Regions from separate parts of the Homo sapiens genome. Here region 1 is linked to region 2. The links are contacts of gene promoters, found by promoter capture Hi-C in human tissues and cell types (Jung and others, 2019). All regions are on one chromosome and are shown on one strand. The core of a region is centred on a gene start or on the middle of the fragment in contact, and the rest is flanking DNA. Distances in the headings are between cores, read along the strand shown.

Region 1 (2,500 bases), core at 1-2,500, 180 kb after region 2:
AACCCTAACTCCCTTTCTCCACAGGGAGAGCCCGGCAAGGCTGGAGAGCGAGGTGTTCCCGGACCCCCTGGCGCTGTCGTAAGTATCTCCTTTCCATCCCTACCTCCTTCCCATTGCTGCCCCGGCACTTTCTCCTCCCTGCAGGAGGGGTGCTAGAGGCCACGGTCCTCAGCTGCTCGGGGCCTCCTAACCCTGAGTTCCCCTTTGCTCTCTCCCTGCAGGGTCCTGCTGGCAAAGATGGAGAGGCTGGAGCTCAGGGACCCCCTGGCCCTGCTGTGAGTGTCCCTGATGGGGAGATCTGGGGAGCAGAAAAGGGGAGACACCCTCAGCCCCTCGTCTCCTCGGCCTCCCCGTGACTGTAGTGTTCTCTCTGTGCAGGGTCCCGCTGGCGAGAGAGGTGAACAAGGCCCTGCTGGCTCCCCCGGATTCCAGGTGAGGCCTCATGGCTGTCAGGATGCTGGGAGGTAGGGGTAGGAAACACCTCTTTGGTCTCTTCCAGATTCTAAACCTTCCCTCCCTTCTTCCCCCATTTCCCACCTACAGGGTCTCCCTGGTCCTGCTGGTCCTCCAGGTGAAGCAGGCAAACCTGGTGAACAGGTAAGAGGGAGCAGCCGGCCAGAGGGGTGGGAGATGCAGGGAATCCAGAGGGACAGGCCCCCGCTCCTAGCTAATCAGACAGCCATCAACTAGAGGGATTGAGGTTAGACGCCGGAAAGAACTTCCTCCCATGAAGGGAGCAGCACAGAGGGAAGTGGGGGCTGCATGATTGCTAGTCTGGGTGACTTCTTTTAAGAGCTGCTGGAATATGCTGTGACTTTCCCTCAACCCTTCTATTGATAAATCTTGGTCCATAGTTTGGGGAGGGGGGAAGCCTTTGACACATCCCTAGGAGGAAGAGAGGGGCTGTTTGGGATAATCTCAATTCAGTGCTGAGAAGGGGTTCCTCTCTAATCACGGCCAGACCCCAGGAGGAAGGACCGTGCTTTCCAGCAGAGTGGCCCCAGGTGGGTTTTGCTCACTGTCTGTTCCTCTCTCCCTCCCCCTCAGGGTGTTCCTGGAGACCTTGGCGCCCCTGGCCCCTCTGGAGCAAGAGTAAGTAGGCCTCTCTCGCTGCATCCGTCAAGGTGCGTCGTACTTGGCCCTATCTCCAGAGCAGCCTTCACATGCCCTGTCCTTCCCTTCTAGGGCGAGAGAGGTTTCCCTGGCGAGCGTGGTGTGCAAGGTCCCCCTGGTCCTGCTGGTCCCCGAGGGGCCAACGGTGCTCCCGGCAACGATGGTGCTAAGGTGAGGGCAGCGTGGAAGGGGCTCTGGCAAGTGGCCCAGGGACCAGGTCTCACCCCTCCTGCAGCAGGGGATGGCGGGCCATGACCAAAGCCATGGAGATAGGGTGTGGGGTGGGGGGAAAAGACCAGGGCAGGGGCCCACACACAGCCTGGAGTCTGGGCTGTGAGTCTTTTCATCTTTTCTCAAGGCTTGTCGTTGGCCTTGGAAACAAGCCTGGGAGATACCAAGCGGGGCTTAGGGCTGTGACCCACTCTTGGGGCCCCAGGCCTCACTCCAGTCTTCTTGGTTGTCACATAGGGTGATGCTGGTGCCCCTGGAGCTCCCGGTAGCCAGGGCGCCCCTGGCCTTCAGGGAATGCCTGGTGAACGTGGTGCAGCTGGTCTTCCAGGGCCTAAGGGTGACAGAGTAAGTTCAACCTTCCCCCTCCCCTGAGCCCTACATGGCTCCCATCTCTGCCTGCTTTGAATCTCTCAGCATCTCTCCTTCTCTCTGGGATCTGTCCCTCTTCTCGCTAATCCTCCCTTCTTCCCCTTTCCCCTCTGGCCTTTTTGCTGATGAATCCTCTCCCTGTGGTCCAGGCCCATCTATCCCCATGGGTTACCATGGTGATGAGAGGTGGGGGCATCTCCTTGGTGGAGGCTCCCTTATTCATCCCGCTACACAAGTCAGGGGCCTCTTAACCTCAGTTCCACCTGAGTCTCCAGGCAGGCACCCTTTTTCCTGAAAGAATCTTTGAGTCCTTGGCCCAGGTGGAGGCAGGGCAGAGCTGCAGAGGGCCTCTCAGGAAACCCAGACACAAGCAGAACACTATAGGTCACCTCCTTGCCCCACACTGGAAATCTCAAGCTTATCCATGTCTTTAGGGTGATGCTGGTCCCAAAGGTGCTGATGGCTCTCCTGGCAAAGATGGCGTCCGTGGTCTGACTGGCCCCATTGGTCCTCCTGGCCCTGCTGGTGCCCCTGGTGACAAGGTGAGGTGGCCGCCTCCCCACCTTCTGCCCTAACACATAGCCTCCTCAGCAGGCCTGGGCACGGTTCCGTGGGGTTGCGTTGGGAGAGCAGGTCCTGCCAAACTGAGCTGTCAACCTGGGAACCTGGAGGGACCAGAAGGAGGGGAGGCTCTCCTGGGGTCATCTACTAGGAGTATTCAGGGGAGGCCCTGACCCTGAGCCTCTTGTCCCTTGCTCTCAGGGTGAAAGTGGTCCCAGCGGCCCTG
Region 2 (5,949 bases), core at 3,438-5,937:
GGCAGAAGAATCACTTGAACCCAGAAGGCAGAAGCTGCAGTGAGCCGAGACCATGCCATTGCATTCTAGCCTGGGCAGCAGGGTGAAACTCTGTCTCAAAAAAAAAAAAAGAGAGAAAAAAGGAACATAGCAAGTTGAAAGGGGCTGGGGCCATTTTGAATACGGGAATGGAGGGAAGGGAAACTCTTCCAAAGGTTAGTACAAGTAAATGACTCTGGCTTTGAAGGCAGATGCTGTGAGCCGAGTGGTCCTTACAAACAGATAGGTTTTTTTGTGACAAAGACAAGAATCACAAGGGAAACTTCAGTCTATGAGAGTACCTCCTGTTTATCACAGGTAGGGCATAATCAAAGTCAAGGATGCCTCAAGGCCAACAATCCTCCAGCAGTACAGTATTATGGAGTAATTGGGGAACAGGACTTTGATAGAAAGTTTTCTGATTGGGTCCCTATAAGCAAAGCAAGACCTATATTACAGCAAAGTGTAGGTTTGGGGAGCTCTGGGTTCTCATTCCCGTTGTGATCCTCAACAAGGCTTTTAACTTTTCTGAGCCCCAGTTTCCCCACCTGTGATGTGGGGAGAAGTCCTACCCCATAGGATGACTGATGGAAACACAAGAGAGAATGTGGGAGTGCCTTGAGAGGGTAAGCTGCTCTATGAATATAAAGGCTTGCTAATACCCCCAGAGTAAAAAGTGTGGGGAACTGTCCTGTGTTACTGAGAAAGTTATCAGATCCAAAAAAGAAATCAAAGAGAGGAAAAAAAAATCTTTTTTCTTATTTTATACAAGATGCTTCTGGTGAGATAAAAAAGAATCTTAGTGCTAGGCAAGGTGCCTCACACCTGTAATCGCAGCATTTTGAGAGGCTGAGGCAGGTGGATTGCTTGAGCTCAGGAGTTGAAGACCAGCCTGGGCAACATGGCAAAACCCCGTCTCTACCAAAAATACAAGCTACACTCTGCAATCTCTACAAAAAACACAGGGCCCACATGTCTTCTGGCTCCCAGCTGGGTGTCACCAGCAGGGACCCGAGGAGAGGACTAGTGGGAAGGAGAAAAGTGAAGTCAGGGTATTTTTCCCCTGGCTCCCTCCCAGTGGGGTCACCTAGGGTTTGCTGTCCCCCTCTGTGGCAGCTCATAGCTTCGCTCAAGGTGGTCCTCTCTCCATTTCTCTCTCCTGAATTCTGTTAACCACTCCTTCCCCTCATCCCTTCAGGCATAGGGATGGTAACAGCTATGCCAATGGTTCTCAACCGGGGGTGATTTTTCCCCACAAATGACATCTGGCAGTGTCTGCAGACATTTTTTATTGTCATGACTGAGAGGGGTACATTAGTAGATAGTGGCCAGGAATGCTGCTAAACATTGTGCACATCATAGGACAGCACCCAAAACAAAGAATTCTCCAATCTAAAATGTCAACAATACTGAGGTCGAAAAACCTAAGTTGTGCTGTTATTACTGTGAGGTACCATGCTGTCACTGGTAGTTTCCTCATACCCTGCCCATGCCTTGGCAAACAGTCCCTTTATTCAATCTTCTTTTAATTACCCTGAGTTGAATGTGCCATCTGTCTTCCTGCTGGGGCCCTGATAAGTATCCTTTAAAATAAAAGCATATTTATCCTGTAATTGTAAGGGGAGGAGAGGGAGGAAATGTCAGCCAGAAAACTCCTACCTCAGACGGCCCAGCCCTTCTCCTCCAAGTGACACTGCAAGGCACAGCCTGCGCCTCAATCACACAGCGGCACTCCATGGTCTGCAGTGCTCCTAGGAGCTGGCCCCCACCTTCCATCTGTAAGAGCACTGCAACAGATGGAAAAGGGACTGTCAGTGGGGGGTCCAGAACGCAGATAACTCAGCACAGGACAAAGACACATGTGAGGACCTGGATCCAGCACTACAATGATGTGTTTTAAGCATTCCTCTGGCCTCTGGGCTTTCATCCTGGTAACCAGTGCTGCATTCTTTCTTTCCTGTCTTCTCAGGGTGCTTTCCTTCTGCCTTGCTTGTCTCTGCTGCCGGCATCCGTGTGAGCCTCTTCCCTGGACCTTCTGACTCGGCTTGGTTTTCTTCTGGGGTGGAAGGATGTCAGAATTTGTTTTGGTTACTGCCAAGCTGCTGCTCTGGCCAGGGCAGGTAGACAGGTAGGCTGGAAGCTGACAGCATGGATCTAAGATCAGGTCCTTGTTATCTGCTGCACTCCTCTCTGGGGTATCATGGAGGGGAACTTCAGGGATCTTTGGAAAGGGCTTTTTCCAGTCACATGATGCACCTTCATTATTTTGATGATCCAAAACACTTTTAACTGGGGAGCTAGAGTCCTCAGGGCTCAGTTGCTTGTGGGTCAGAAACTTACATGTAAGCCTTTGAGCCAGAGGAATAAATTCTTCTTCATCTTCACTTTCACTGCTTAGCAACCTGACTGGCTGTGTTTGTGTGACAGTTTCAGCTATTTCTGGGACAGGTGGTGAAAATAACTCTGGTGCTGGAGGACAGGAGGCTTCACAATCTGAGATGTCAACCACTACAATCTTCTCTTCCCTTTCAGGCTGTCTCCTCTTTGTTGAAGATGGTTCCTTCTTCAGAAAGGCAAATGTTGGCAACTCCTCAGAGTCACTATCACCAGAATCCAGTGAGGGTGATGACTTCTTTAGAGCCATCAGTATGTGCTATCAAATAATTCCCTAAAAGGAAAAGAGACATATGACACAGACTGGAGCATTCAATTCAGTCCACTAGCTGTGTTCCATAGCCAGGCTTTATGACATAAATATAAGATATAGAGAATACAGAAACAGAGAAATATGACATGGCCCCAACACATTCAATCTGGAACTCTAACTCCTGGTAATCTAACAGGAATCCTCCTCAAATTCTTTCCAGGTCAAGCTGAAGTATAAACAAAGTAGAGTTACCATTACAAAATTTTAATGGGGGGAGGTGGTAACAAGATTTAACACCTCCAACCCCTTGTTTATCTTCACGTTTGAAATGGAGATGTCAAAAGTTCTTCTTTTTTTTTTTTGAGATGGAGTCTCACTCTGGCACCCACGTTGGAGTGCAGTGGCACAATCTTGGCTCACTGCAACCTCACTCCCAGGTTCAAGTGATTCTCCTGCCTCAGCCTAGCTGGGATTACAGGCGCCCCACCACCACACCTGGCTAATTTTTGTATTTTTAGTAGAGATGCGTTTTCATCATGTTCGCCAGGCTAGTCTTGAACTCCTGACCTCAAGTGATCCGCCCGCCTTGGCCTCCCAAAGTGCTGAGATTACAGGTGTGAACCACTGCACCTGGCCAAAAACTGTTCTTTTTAAAAATTGAGATATAGGCTGGGCATGGTAGCTCATGCGTATAATCCCAGCACTTTGGGAGGCCAAAGCAGAAGGATCACTTGAGCCCAGGAGTTCGAGAACAGCCTGGGCAACATAGTGAGAACTCGTCTCTACAAAAAAATACAAAAATTAGCTGGGTATGGTGGCTCACACCTGTAGTCCCAGATACTCAGGAGGCTGAGGTGGGAGGATTGCTTGAGCCTGGGAGGTCAAGGCTGCAGTGAGCTGTGATTGTACGACTGCACTCCAGCCCGGGTGACAGAGTGAGACCCTGCTTCAAAAGAAAAATAAAATAAAAATAAAAATAGAGATATAATTTGCACAGCATAATATCCTTTTAAAAGTGTACATTCAGTAGATTTTAGTATATTCACAATGTTGTGCAACCATCATCACTATTTTATCACCTCAAAAAGAATTCCTGCAGCCATTAAGCCGTCACTGTCCTTTCCCTCCCTCCCCAGCTCCTGGCAACCATAAATCTGTCTCTATGCATTTGCCTATTCTGGATATTTCATATAAATAGAATCATACACTATGTGGCCTTTTGTGATTGACTTTTTTCACTCAGCTTGTTTTCAAGGTTTATCTATGATGTAGCCTGTATCAGTAGTTAATTGCTTTTCATGACTGAATAATATTCCACTGTATGGATATGCTACATTTTGTTTATCCATTCATCACTTGGACATTTAATTTGTTTCCTTTTTTTGCCTGTTATGAATAATGCTGCTATGAACACTGACATACAAGTTTTTGTGGGGGTATGTTTTCAAATCCCTTTCGTGTATATACCTAGGAGTAGAATTGCTGGGTCATATGCAAAGCTAATCATTTCTTGAACATTTACTAACACTGTAGGTATGACCCAGAAGGAGACATGTAACCTGCCTAGGCCTCAGTTTCTTCCTTAGTAAAACAGGGATGGTAACAGCACCCATTTTATAAGGTAGTGAGAATTAAATAAAATAATGCATCCACCGCGCTTAGTACAGCATCTGGCACACAGCTGGCTAAGTAGAGTAAGTTGAATGACTAGGGAGGGGGCCTCATCTCTGACCCTTCGCTGGGCCTCCGTTGACATCTGCAAATCAGGGGAGTGGGACAAGCGGGCCCCTGCCCGACAAGCTCTGCGCCTCTCAGGCTGGCGGTCCGCTGCAGAGGCTCCTGGACACCTTAGCCACCAAGATTCTGCAGAGCGGTGTTCAGGAGGGAAGCCCTGCCCAATCCGCAGGCCTGCGACCGGGGACGCTCACCTGCAACTTCTCCCGCCACTCTTTCAACTGCCACGCAGGGCCCGGAAGTAGATCTCCTGATAGCGGAAGTAGAAACTTTTCGAGACCGGAAGTGAGTGATCGAAAGCATGGCGTCGGTGGTGTTGGCGCTGAGGACCCGGACAGCCGGTAATGGGACGCAGTAGTCAGAGCGGGGTGAGGCGGGGAGGCAGAGTGGAGCTCCAGCAGGGAGGGAAGGAGGTGACACTGATCCCCGCGGAGGACCTTGGATGCGAGGGGAAGTGTGTGGGGTACTCCAGGTTTGAGGGACGGTGTCGCTGGTCACGTGACACATCCTGGGTGGAGCCGTGAGTGAGGGCGTTTGAAGAGCACTTGTCTTTCTCCTGCCTCAGCAGCACGGACGGGTTCCTTGGCGGTTGGGGATTTGGGTGGGTCCTTTCTCTGTAGAAGTATTAGTAACATTGGCATATTGGGGTTGAAAAAATTAATCTATTGATTCAGCAGATTGAGGTCTTACTTTGTGCTAGACACGGCGGTAGGTGTTCGGAAAATCAGCAGAAAACGTGAAGACTTGGCTTCTAGCCCCCGAACGGTTCTCTCTGGTGCATAAGGCAATAAATGAACATATAAAGTAGATGTAGACTGGCAAGTGCTGTGAAGAAGGATAATGTGTGTCTGTGTGTGTGTCTTTTTTTAGATTGGACGGTGAAGGAAGGCTTCTGAGGAGATAACATTTAAAACCTAAAGAATGACAGGCGGGGCGTGATGGCTCACGCCTGTAGTCCCAACACTTTGGGAGGCCTAGGTGGGCGGATCGCTTGAGCCCAGGAGTTCAAGACCGACTGGGCAACATGGCAAAACCCCATCTCTACAAAAAATACAAAAATTAGCTGGGTGTAGTGGCGCTTGCCTGTGGTCTCAGATACTCAGGAGGCTGAGGTGGGAGGATCACCTGAGCTCGGGAGGTCGAGGTTGCAGTGAGCTATGTTCATACCACTGCACTCCAGCCTGGGTGACAGAATGGGGCCCTATCCCCCCCCCCCAAAAAAAAAAGAATGACAGGAGACCTAGACCTGTGTAGAGTGAGGGACAGGAGAGTGACTTGAGCCAGTTTTACATTTTGAGAAGCAAACTATTGCTCTTATGTAAATTTAAAGGGGATAGGAGTGGAAATGAGGAAATCAAATGGAAAGTCGTAATAGCCCTGAGGAGAGATGATTTAGCCAAGATGTTTGTGGTGGCAGTGAACTTGGAGGAAAACGGATGAATTTGAGATCTGTTTTGGAGTTAGCATCCACAGAGCTTGCTGGTGAACAATATGTGAGGACAGCAAAGAGAAGGAATCTGCAATGACTCTGGTTTCTGCCTAAGCAACTG

What was found. The method cuts DNA at HindIII sites, captures the fragments that hold promoters and counts their contacts. A contact is called where the count stands out against the background at its distance.
Region 1: a contact is called between a fragment that was not itself captured here and the fragment with the promoter of MRPL27 in region 2, in 1 of the 25 tissues and cell types used here (thymus).

The regions. Positions count from the first base shown.
Region 1 is chr17:50,190,572-50,193,071 of GRCh38, reverse strand. COL1A1 (collagen type I alpha 1 chain) reads left to right here. Exons shown (of 51, transcript NM_000088.4): 26 at 25-78; 27 at 222-275; 28 at 379-432; 29 at 544-597; 30 at 1,048-1,092; 31 at 1,186-1,284; 32 at 1,582-1,689; 33 at 2,148-2,255; 34 at 2,476-2,500. Among named protein-coding and RNA genes, the nearest start is that of COL1A1, 9.8 kb to the left of the region's middle. The HindIII fragment of the contact is 7,477 bases long and covers 1-2,500 here.
Region 2 is chr17:50,371,922-50,377,870 of GRCh38, reverse strand. It overlaps MRPL27 (mitochondrial ribosomal protein L27), which reads left to right and starts at 4,687. Exons shown (of 4, transcript NM_016504.3): 1 at 4,687-4,740. The coding sequence starts at 4,701. It overlaps EME1 (essential meiotic structure-specific endonuclease 1), which reads right to left and starts at 4,642. Exons shown (of 9, transcript NM_152463.4): 1 at 4,594-4,642; 2 at 1,888-2,686; 3 at 1,678-1,805. The coding sequence starts at 2,662. RefSeq lists enhancers at 4,324-4,543, 4,684-5,153. The HindIII fragment of the contact is 32,602 bases long and covers 1-5,949 here.